Linked DNA regions of Homo sapiens: region 1 is linked to region 2. Evidence: promoter capture Hi-C in human tissues and cell types (Jung and others, 2019). All regions are on one chromosome and are shown on one strand. Each heading gives the region's core, a stretch centred on a gene start or on the middle of the fragment in contact. The rest is flanking DNA. Distances are from core to core; before and after follow the strand shown.

Region 1 (6,229 bases), core at 140-2,639, 1.0 Mb after region 2:
CTTTTTTTCTTTTTTATTTATTTATTTATTTTTTTGGTAGAGTCTCACTCTGTCACCCAGGCTGGAGTGCAGTGGCACGGTTCAAGCGATTCTCCTGCCTCAGCCTGCCAAGTAGCTGCGATTACAAGCACATGCCATCATGCCTGGCTATTTTTTTTGTACTTTTGTAGAGATAGGGTTTCACCATGTTGGGCAAGGTGGTCTTGAACTCCAGACCTCAAGTGATCTGCCTGCCTCAGCCTCCCAAAGTGCTATGATCACAGGAGTTAGCTACCACACCAGGCCTTCAATGACTCAAAATAAACATTTTTCCCAAGCATTCATGGAATATTTTAATCAAATGTTAAACTATAAAGCAGCTTCCAAAAATTAAAATATATGTATAAATATATATCTATATATTATAGCTTATAATATATATCTTATAAGATATATATTAATTATATAATTATATAAGATATATTATATATCTTATAAGATATAATATATTATATATAAATATGTATATAGTATCACACACAGACTGGGTTTCTGAAAAGATAAATAGTATCATACAGATCAAGCTCTCTGACCACAATGGATTTGCAACCCAAAAAAATACATAATTAGAAAAATCCCTATATGTTTGGAAATTTTAAAATGTCCTTCTAAATTACTTAAGGATCAAAGAAGATATCATAATGAACATCAGGAAACATTCAGACCTGATAACAAATAAAATATTACACATCAAAACTTACATTATAAGTGAAAGAAAGAAGCTAAAGGAAACTTAGAGGAAAATGTATAGCTTTAAATGTTCAAAGTATAAAAAAAGAAAATCTAATAAGTAATGAAAACTATATACATCTTAAGAAGTTAGTATAGGAAGAGCAGAATAAACCCAAAGAAAAGAGAAGGAAGGAAATAATAGAAATAAAAATTAATGGATAGGAAATAAAATATTTAATAGTCAAAAGTTGGTTCTCTGAAAAAGCTAGTAAAATTTACAAACTTCTTATAATAAGAAACAAGAGAGATGACCCCAAAATGAAAATTAAAATAGTATGGTTATGAAATGATAATATTACATAAATGTATGACATTAAAAGGGGGCATAAATTCTAATGCTAGAGACATAAGATAATTAGGAGATGTATGAGCATTATTCCAATAAACTTGAAAATGTAGCTGAAATGATTCCTATAAAATAGAATTTATTTAAACTGACTCAAGAAGAAAGCAAAAACTGAATGGTCCTATAACTCCTAAAGAAATTTAGTCATTAGTTTAAAATCTTTCCCTAAACGAAGGATGAGGTCCAGGAGAGTTTATTGATAACAACCATTCAAGAAACAATTTCAATTTTACGCAAACTGTATCAGATTATGGCAAAAAAAAAAAAAAAGATACTACTCAACGCATTTTCTAAAGCTAGTATAACCTCGATACCAAAATTCAACACTGACATTCAAAAGGAGGAATTTGCAGACCAATCTTACTCATGAATATAAATGCAAAAATCCCAGATAAAACACTAACGAACTGAATCCCTCAAAGTATTAAAATTACACACAGACACACACACACACACGCACGCACTATGGCCAAATGGGTTTATTCGGAAATCAAAGTGAATTAAAGAAGAAAAAAATATAACTGACTACATTAACTATTGAAAGAAAATCATATGACTATCTCAACAAATGCATAAAAAGCATTTGATAAAACTCCAACAATCCTTTATAGTAAAAATTTATAGTAAACTGTGAATTAAAGTGAACTTCCTTACTCTGATACTAGACATCTACCCAAAAATTTGCAGCAAACATCATATTCAATTTTGAAATTTTGAAAGCATTCCATTTAAATATCATAAGTAAGTTTCTGTACTATCTCTATCTACTTTGACGCAAGGTTATGCTGGATACTCAATACAGTACATACAAGAAAGCAAGGAAAAAAATAAAAGGTCTAAGGATTCAGAATGAAATAACAAATCTGTCATTATTCAAAATTGATATGATTTTCCATAAAGATAAATTATTAAAATTAAAAGTTAAATAAATATGCTAAAATAAAATCATTATTCAAAATTGATTGTATTTCTAGGCATCCATAATAAGCAGAAAAAATTTAAAAGACATTTATTATAGCATCAAAAATATGATGTGCTTAGGAATAAATCTACCAAAGATACACAAGACTTCAGGGAGAAAAGTACAAAACATTATTGAAAGATATTAAAGAAGACTTTAATTAATGAAGAGATATACAATGTAATAGGTATTTTTCAAGAAGGGATGGGAGCACAGAACCTCAGACCAATGGAGCAGCATAAAAAGTCCAGAAACAACCCCACACATAATTGCCATTTAACATATGACAGAGGTGCTGTTGAAGGTCAGTTGGAAAAAAATGCATTAAAAAAATAGTGCTGGAACAATTTGTTTCAATATAAAAAAAATTAAATTGACTCCTACCTCATGCAAAAAACAAAAATCAGTTCCAGATAAATTAAAGACCTAATGTGAAAGGCAAGAATGTAAAACTTTTGGAAGACGATATAGTAGAACACCTTTATGATTTCAAACTAAGGTAGCTCTTAAACCAGACATAAAAGATTTGTTATAAAGGAAATTATTGACTACATTAAAATCAATGTCTTCTGTTTATCAAAAAGCATTATAAATGGTGAAGGGACAAGTTCAAACTGAGAGATGATTGCTACATGCTAACAAAGTATTAAAATGCAAAAAATATTTTAAATGTTTGCAAATCAGTAGGAATGACAAACAACCAAGCAGAAAAATGAGGCATAAGTAGTCCGTAAACACAAGAAAAGATGTTCAAACTCATGGCAAATCAGGGAAATTATAACCACAAAAGACCATTCGAAAATTGCCAGACGTAAGAAGTGTGATGAAATTAACTGTTTATGAGGTTGAGGAGCAATGAGAATGCTCATACCCTGCTAGTGAGAATGTAAATTTGTACAGCACTTTTGGAAAACAGCATGACATTACCGAGTAAAATTAAATGTGCGTATTCAGGTACTCTATGATTCAATGTTCCCGCTCCTAAGTATATATCCTAGAGAAATCTTGTATATGTGTACCAGGAGACATGTAGAAGACAGTGTATAACAGTATTGTTTACAATGCAGAAAACTGGAAAAAACCTAAATGCATTCAACAGACTGGATCAATAAGCTGTGGTATATTTTCATAATAAAATATCATCGAGGCATAAAAATTAGTGAGCTACAGCTACAATCATCAGCATGGATGGATCTCAAAAATAAAATGTTAAATTAAAAGAAACAAGTCGCAGAAGAATATGTACAGTATGCTTTTATTTATGTCAAGTTCAGAAACAATCCAAACTAAACAATGCAATTTTTAGGGGCATAAATAGGTAGTAATGAGCATAAAGAAAAGTTAGGAAGGGATTAGCAAAGTTCAGAATCGTGGATAGTTTCAGGGAAGGAGAGGGACAAATTGCTTCTGGAATATGGTACCTGTAAAGTGTTATTTCTCAACCTGGATACTAGATCTAAAGTAATCCCTTTTCTTTTTCTTAAACTGAATGCATATATCTTTATACATTCTTCTGTATGCCTGCTATGTTTTATAGTAAAAAAAAGTTGTATAACATTTGCCTATAAAATATGTTTTATAACATTTGTCTGAATTTTCCGGACAAAATTTTTTTCTGAATTACAAGAATAATTATTTCAGTTTCCTCTTCTGGGGCTTGAAAAAGAGAGTCACAGAACTTGAGGTGTTCCCTATTACAAAATTCAAATAAGTACTTGTATGCACAATCCTTGTTTATTTAGCAATAGGTTTTAATTAGGCAATGTAGGTTCTCAGAGTCACTCAAAGTATACTCGAAAATTATATCATAGCCCTTTTATTCTTAATTGCATTCATGCTATCCAAGAAATAACACTGTAGAGCAGTGCTGTCCAATAGAAATATATCATAAGCCAACTATGTAATTTATTCTTTCTAGTAGCCACATTTCAACATCTGATCAATATTTTTTCTAATTATTAATGAAATATTTTACATTCTTTTCCCTCCTCAATTTTCAAAATTCAGTGTGTATTTTACACTTACAGCACATCTCGATCCGGACTAGCCACATTTCAAGTTCTCAACAGCCACATGAGGCTGGTGACTACCATACTGGACAGCACAGCCTTATAGTCTCCAGATAAATAATGATCCCCTTAGCTTCAACTTTAGAAGTTAGCAGGAGAGAACCACCCACCAAGCCTCGGGGTCTATTAGGTCTCCAAACTACAAGAAAGATTTCTAATTTTAGCATGAAGTAGAGGTAGGTACCTTATTCACACAGAACAATAGAACTGGTCATTTTTATCACATCTTTTCTCTTTATATCCCTGAATTTCCTCTGAATTAGGCCTAACAGGAACTTCTTGTAAACGGGAAATAATAATGCTTTGGAGTTCTTAAACCCATTTTCCTCAGGAATCTAAAAAATGTTAAGAATACTGGTTCATTAATCAACAGACTAACAACAGTCTAGACATACTCTGCCATTTAAATTTATGTATATTTAGAAAAATCAAGCCTTAGAAGAGAATGGCTAACATCCCATCTAGAAACAGAAACTGAACCAAGGTCTAAGATTCGGAGCCCCACGGCTCCCCTGAGCCGACACCCTGAGCACACATGTATGTTCCTTTGGGTTATTAGATTTTCTTTTGGTTCCAATCATTCACAGTTAATTCCTTATATTATTTCATATTTCACCCACTCTACTTCATTTCAATATTCTCCCACCCCTTAGTTGTCTGAAGGAACCAAATTTAATATGCTGAGTCTTGGCCTTAAATACTTAGTAATGTTTCCAAGAGGAAATATACAATTGCCAAAAGGTTTTGTTTCTTTATTTTTTAAAGACCAGTTATTAAAATTTCTGTAGAACGACTTTTGTAGCAATAAAAGCCAAATATTGACTAATTAACAGAGAACTAGAGAATGAGATCATCAATATTTATGGGATTTTTTCTTCTGATTAATTTTCAGTATTTTGCATGAGAAACCTGAGTTTTCTTAGTCAGTGTTGTTTAGTAAGTGTATTCATTTTCCAGTAGTAAGTACATAAAGGTGCCACTAATGAGAACCAAGCATTGACTTCCTGGGATTCATTTGAATGCTTATATACACACCATTTTTCCAATCTTTCCCTATTTTTTAAACTGTATTTTCTCCACAGCAGTACAAAGTATTATTTAACTAACCTCCAACACATTGGTTTTCTGGCTTTCAGATTTCATAACCAATAGAAAAATAAATGTTTTAATTAAGGAACTGGCATAACTTTGCCAATTTCTTATTTTGCCAATTACAGTTATAAAATAATAATTAAACTCTACAACTTATTTTATTACCATCATTTCCTTCAAGCAGTGGTTCTCAAACTAGCATGTGTCAGAATCACCTGGAGGGCTTGTTAAGGCACAGATGGCTGGGGCCCACCTGCAGAGCTTCTGATTCTGTGAGTCTCAGAGCCCAAGTATGTGCATTTCCAACAAATTCCCACGTGACGCTGCTGCCACTGCTCTTTGGAACCACACTTTGAAAACCACTGCATTAAAGAGAGGACATTTCAGGAGCAAAAAGGAAGACAAGAGGCAATCTCAGAATAAAAAAAAAATCAATTAAATTAAGTAAATTTAGCTTTATTTTTTCTACTTCTCCCAGGTCAGTTTCACAAACAGTAACAATGTCTCTGAAGTAACATTTAGAAACTTTCTGATAACTAGCCTTAGCCAGCCAGCCACATGTAGTTATTGAGCACTCCAAATATGACTAGTCCAAATGGAGATTTGCTCTAAGTGCAAGATACACACTAGATTTTAAAGATTTACTACAAAGGGCATGGTGGCTCAGGCCTATAATCCCAGCACTTCAGGAAGCTAAGGCAGGAGGATTGCTTGAGCCCAAGAGTTTGAGACCAGTCTGGGCAACACAGTGAGACCCCATCCCTACAAAAGATTCTGAAAATTAGCCATGCGCGGTGGAGTATGCCTGCAGTCCCAGCTACTGGGGAGGTCAAGGCGGGAGGATCATTTGAGCCCAGGGCATCAAAGGTGCAATGAGCTCGGATCACGCCACTGCACTCCAGCCTGAGCCACAGAATGAGACCCTGTCTCAATCAGAAAAAAAAAAAAAAGACTCATTACCAAAAAAGAGAATATATTTCACTAATAATT
Region 2 (5,848 bases), core at 3,009-5,508:
TGCTTGCTACTCATTTTCTTGCAAAAACAAGCTCCTAGCTGGTGGAGGTGGAAACTAGCTTTTAGCTAGAGGAAGAATTAGCAAAACCACTAAATCACTAACACTGAATATTCAACATTTCAACTCCCTTTCCCAGAAGCAAATTTGGTGTATAATTGAAATTTTTAATTGTTCTTTAATTGTATACACACACACAACTATATATACCTATATGTATATATATTCAATAGGAGAGAAAGAAGCAAGAGCTGCCAAGGCCCTATGGCTCAAAAGGATTCTCCACCTGGCTGGGCACATAGAGGCGATGGTACCCAGAGCAGGATCTCCAAGTCTGAGTCTGCATTCAGAGGTTTGCCTCCTCAAAAACAACTGAACAAAGGCTGAAGCCGCACTGAGCGCTCGGAAGGCTGGGGAAAGGAGGAGGAAAGCATATGAACTCAGATCCAGGCCTTAAGACAGAAAACACGGAGGCCGTTTCTTTCCAAAATATATCATTAAATCATCGTGTTCTTTCCCTTTAGCCTGGGATGAGTGGGGGGAGGGGATATTCATGGAGATCACTCCTCAAAGAAAATTAAATTATTCTAAATATAAAAGCGTATCTCTTGGTTCAGCAGTCTTTTCCAAATCTATCCCGTTTGCTATTTCACACAAATACAAAGACTCTGGTGTCTCCTTCCATAGCCCGGGTTCCCGCAGAGATTTGGAACCACTAGGAAATTTGTTAAAAAAAAAAAAAAAAAAAAAAAGCCGAAGAGAAAGGACGCTAAAATCTGAGTGCTCAACATTCCCTTCAGAAAGACAAATGTGTCCTCTGAAATGCTGCAGTCCAAGCGGGCCTCTTGACCAAGAAAACAGTTTTAAAACGAGAAAAAAACAGCTTCATCTGGCATTCAATCAGTTGGGAACTCAGAGGGCGGCGGGGAAGGGGGGACGCTTTTAAGGCCTGGGGGTTCTCCCCCAGGGAGGCGGGCTGAGGAGGCTTCCGGGATGCCGGCGGGTGGAAGAGAAATCTGGAACCGTTGTAAATATTCATGTGGGGGGATGCCCCTTCACCCTTCACCCGCCTCTCCCAGCTGCATTCCCCCCTCAGTGATAGTGGGGGAGGGCAAGGCGACTGCCCCACTGTCCTTAGACAAAGGTGATCTCCCCATATTTTTGTTCTCCAGTCGCTTGACTTAAGAAGTCCATTCCGAAGGCTCTGTAGGGAAGGAACTGGCTCTGGGTGTTTTCCCTGCATTTCTCTTCTTTCGTTTCTTAAAAGAGCATAAATAATTAAAGTTTGGCAGGGAGGAAAAGCTTTCTTGCAGAACTGTAGTGGCAATAAATGAAATGACTCAGAATCCCTTCCCCAGTCAGCTTTTACGAGAGCTGCCAGACAGTGTCTGTTCACGTTCTCCAGATACCAGGGGCGCCCTGACAAAGTTAAGGTCAAGTTAGTGTCTTATCTTGGGTGACTCAAAATCACCGCATCGCGTCCTGGCGCTGTGCGGAAAGCTCTTTCTCGCGGAGCGGCTGGCTGCGCCCCGAAGGCCTGGTGCGCTCCCTGCGTTTCGGGTGGGGCCGCGCAGGCAAGGACAAGGCCACAGAGTCGGGGTCTTCACGGTAGGTTCTCGAGCGGGACGCGCGGGTCCGGAGGCTGCGGTTTTCCCTGGGTTTGGGGAATGGGGGTAGGAACTAGGAGGGAGCTGGGGCCAAAGAGCCAAGCGGGCTGGGACTGGAATGAAAGCGCTCTGGGTTGTGGAGTGGGTCGGGGGGCAAGGGTCCGCGCTAAGGAGCCGAAAGGGGCCGGCCGCCCCCTTCCCCTATGCACCGGCGCGCCACTGCAGATGGCTCACCCTCCCCCGCCAAATCGCTGCTCCCGCCGGAGCTGCCGTCGCCATGTCGTTGAACTTGAATGGTTCGTCCTCCCCTTTTCCCTCTTCGGCGGTCAGCAGGCTCCATACTGGGGGCGCCGGGCTGCCTGCACCCCACCCCGTGCCGCCAGTAGAGAGAAGGTGCGAGAATTTTGCGAATCCCCAGACACATAAAGACCCGGGTTGAAGTCCTCGCAGCTGCCCTGGGTCCTGAGCTACCGCAGGGCCAGTGTGCAGCGTCCAGGGAGCCATTTTAGGAGAGAGATCCAGGGGCGTCGACCACGAGCCCGAAAGGGAGAGGCTTGGGCCTGGGATGGAGATGGGGAGGCAGATAAGTGTGCTGGGGGTCTGGGTTGAGGAGAAGAATGTCAGCTGGAATCTGGGCGGGGGTGCCAGCTGCGGGGAGGGAGCACACAAGATGGGCAGTTCTAGTTGGGGGAGGCTCGATGCCCTCCAGTCGCCACAGACCTATTTGCGCAGTGTTGGGGGAGGGAAGAAGACATGGGAAGGGGCGGAGGAAGGAGAGAGGAAGGGAGAAAGGGAGGGAGGAGAAAAAGAGGAAGGGGGGGTACATCAGCCAGAAAATAGATATTAGCTCAGACCACCCGCCTTTTCTCTGTCTGTCCGCACGGTGGGCAGAGCGCACAGCACCGGCACTGCAGCAGCCCGGGCCAGGGAGGGAACCAGCATCACAGCCAGCGCCGCCTGCCCTGGGTATAGGACTGAGGCCCAGGCCCCAGCGCTGGGATTGCCTGGGCGGAGGAATCTTGGGGAAAGGGGCAGCCTCCTGCCCTCGGTTCTGGGATTTGGGTTTGGGAAGAGACGGTTTACCTTTGAAAAGCGTCTGCTCACTCGGAGGTGGGATCCCAGGCCTTGCCTGGACCCATGGGCTAGGAGAGGGTCGCGGCAGGCTGGGAGGAGAGTGAGGCCTTGGGGGAGTGGATGGGGTGCCCCACGAAGAGTCTGCCTCAGAGCCAGGTGACACAGAGGGGCTCCAGGAGGGAGTCAGGCTCCGCTGAGAGCCCTTAGAGAGACAACCTATCTTGGGGGAGGGGCTGAAGTGACCATGCAGACCCAAGGGTACCAGAAGAGCCTCGGGGAAACGCGGCGTGGATTCGCAGGCCTTGGCGGGGCTCCGAAGCAGTGAAGGGTCTAGGTATAAGGCGGACACCCAGGCTAGGCCTGAAAGCAGAGGGGTGAGGAGGACGAAGGTGCGAGTGTGTGGGGGTTGTCTCTTGTGGGGAGCCAGCGGGAAGCCAAGCACCCTAAGAGTAGGACTCCAGATCCTTTTGTTCACCAGACTCCCCAGATTCTAGGGAGGCTGGGGACCACGGGCTGAGCCCCCTCCTGGCTTCAGTGCTGAAGGAGAAGGCAGAGAGGCAACGGGGAGAGAGACAGAGACAGTGACACACAGCTTAGAGGAAAGGAGGGGAGAGGATGAGAGGACAGAGAGAGAGAGGAGAAGGGAGACAGGAAAGCAAGAGGAAGGAAGAAGGAAAGCGGAAAAGAAGAGGAAGGAGAGAAGTGAAGACAGGAGAGAGAAGGGAGAAGACTGAAGAGAAACGAGGCAAGGAGAAAGAGAGACAAGAACAGAGAGGGAAACCAGAGAGAAGGGAAGAGAGCCGGGTGGGCACGAAGGCCCCGGCCTGGGTGAGTGCCTAGGTGGTGAATGGCCTGGGTTTTTCCGAGGCCAGCACTCGCACCCTTGGGGTCAGAACCGGAAAGAGCCAAGTCACTCCACTCTGAACGCGCTGGGCAGAAAAATATGTAAATCAGGGCTCCCTGCGCCCTGGAGAGTGGCGAAATTACTCCCGCCCGGTGAACAAGAAGCAACAAGCTCCCAGGCGGGTGAGCTGCAGAGGGTGGCAGAGTCGCGGGGGAGGGAGCGGCTGCAGTAAGGGGGGTGGGGTTCGGAACCTCACACCCTCACACCTAGTTCCTAGCTTCTAGGGAGCCTGGAGCCGGGGCTTCCCCCCCTCTGCTCGCTGCTTCTCTCCCTTCCCCCTTCCTCCCCCTCTTCCCCCTCCTTCCTCCTCCCCGCCGGCCTCGGTCCGCGTACTTAAAGCGGCGCGGGAGGGCGGACGCGGGCGGGCGGCCCGTTCGGGCGGTGGCAGATGCGCCCAGCGGTGACAGCGGCCAGCGGCGCGCAGGTGACCGGCCTGAGGCGCAGCCTGGTCAGGGAGCGCCCGGGGAGAGCTGGCGGCAGAGGGCAGCCGATCCGCCCCCAGCGCGCGCGTCTCGGCGCCAGGAGCCGTCCCGGGGCGTGTTGGCGAGCGTTGATATAGATATAAGGACATTTCTCTTCATGGCGTCACGTGACATAATTACCACCAGAATCAATCAAGATGAATTGCACGTCAGCGCCCGGTGGGGATTTTTGCTTAGTTGATCCTGGCCCAAGCCTCTTGTGCAATCGATGGCTCAGGTTGGCTGCGCGGGGAGCGGCCAGAGGCTCGCTGGCGCGCACGCCGCGGAGTCATGAACGACTTTGACGAGTGCGGCCAGAGCGCAGCCAGCATGTACCTGCCGGGCTGCGCCTACTATGTGGCCCCGTCTGACTTCGCTAGCAAGCCTTCGTTCCTTTCCCAACCGTCGTCCTGCCAGATGACTTTCCCCTACTCTTCCAACCTGGCTCCGCACGTCCAGCCCGTGCGCGAAGTGGCCTTCCGCGACTACGGCCTGGAGCGCGCCAAGTGGCCGTACCGCGGCGGCGGCGGCGGCGGCAGCGCGGGGGGCGGCAGCAGCGGGGGCGGCCCCGGCGGGGGCGGCGGCGGCGCGGGGGGCTACGCTCCCTACTACGCGGCGGCGGCGGCGGCGGCTGCGGCGGCCGCGGCGGCCGAGGAGGCGGCCATGCAACGCGAGCTTCTCCCGCCCGCGGGCCGCCGGCCGGACGTGCTCTTCAAGGCGCCTGAGCCGGTGTGCGCTGCGCCGGGGCCGCCGCACGGCCCCGCGGGCGCCGCCTCCAACTTCTACAGCGCGGTGGGCCGCAATGGCATCTTGCCACAGGGCTTCGACCAGTTCTACGAGGCAGCGCCCGGGCCCCCGTTCGCCGGGCCGCAGCCCCCGCCGCCACCCGCGCCGCCACAGCCCGAGGGCGCAGCCGACAAGGGCGACCCCAGGACCGGGGCTGGTGGCGGCGGGGGCAGTCCCTGCACCAAGGCGACCCCTGGCTCGGAGCCCAAGGGGGCAGCAGAAGGCAGCGGTGGCGACGGCGAGGGCCCCCCGGGAGAGGCGGGGGCCGAGAAGAGCAGCAGCGCAGGTAGGCACCGGGTACTGGGCAAGCGGTGGGCCCGGGGGCCGCGGGGGAGGGGGGGGGGGCGGAGGCCTCCCTCTGCTTGCGCCTTTTTATGTGCTACTTTATAAGCATTCGAAGAGGTTTATACATCCTATAAGATTTCCTGGGCCGTTGTAAAGTGTGTTTATGGTAGGAAACCAATTTAGGTGGGCTTAAGGTAGACTTCGAGGAGGACATTAATAGCTGTCGAGAGCCTTTTCCCAGTTTTGGGCAGGGGGTTGCTAGATACCATGGAGGGAGGGAGGGAGGGAGATTTCAAGCCAGTGTGAGTGCATACACCGGAGCCTCCTGCTTTTAAGGGAGAGAGGCGGGGGGTGGGGAAGTGGGGGGAGTTTGATCCTTGCACTGGACTTTATCCAAGCCGCTAGCTGACGCGCGCCGCTGGAGTCAAGCAGATGCCCCGGCGGGCCTGCTCTTGTCTCTGTTCCCTCAGGTTCCAGTTTAGAGCCTGCCTTGCCCTCTGCTTCCCCACCTCCGTGCCAGGCTCTGTGTGTGTGTGTGTGTGTGTGTGTGTGTGTGTGTGTGTCCGGGCGTGAACACATGTCCACGCCCGCACTCTCTCCTGTGCCCGCCCATATATCATCCCCCACGACGCAGGCAGGGCCTTTCGGCCGCGGCAGAGAACGTCCCCAACGGGGCCAGGGCCTGGCCCTCGCTCAGTGGCCCGGGCGGGCGGGCGGGTGGGGGCTGTCAGGCA

What was found. The method cuts DNA at HindIII sites, captures the fragments that hold promoters and counts their contacts. A contact is called where the count stands out against the background at its distance.
Region 1: a fragment that was not itself captured here is called in contact with the fragment with the promoter of HOXD11 in region 2 in 1 of the 25 tissues and cell types used here (lymphoblastoid cells).

What each region holds. Positions count from the first base shown.
Region 1 is chr2:177,113,311-177,119,539 of GRCh38, forward strand. All of the region lies in intron 1 of LOC105373760 (a long non-coding RNA gene), which reads right to left. Among named protein-coding and RNA genes, the nearest start is that of MIR4444-1, 96 kb to the right of the region's middle. The HindIII fragment of the contact is 4,980 bases long and covers 1-3,879 here.
Region 2 is chr2:176,103,022-176,108,869 of GRCh38, forward strand. It overlaps HOXD11 (homeobox D11), which reads left to right and starts at 4,259. Exons shown (of 2, transcript NM_021192.3): 1 at 4,259-5,115. The coding sequence starts at 4,335. RefSeq lists an enhancer at 1,129-2,115. The HindIII fragment of the contact is 4,264 bases long and covers 538-4,801 here.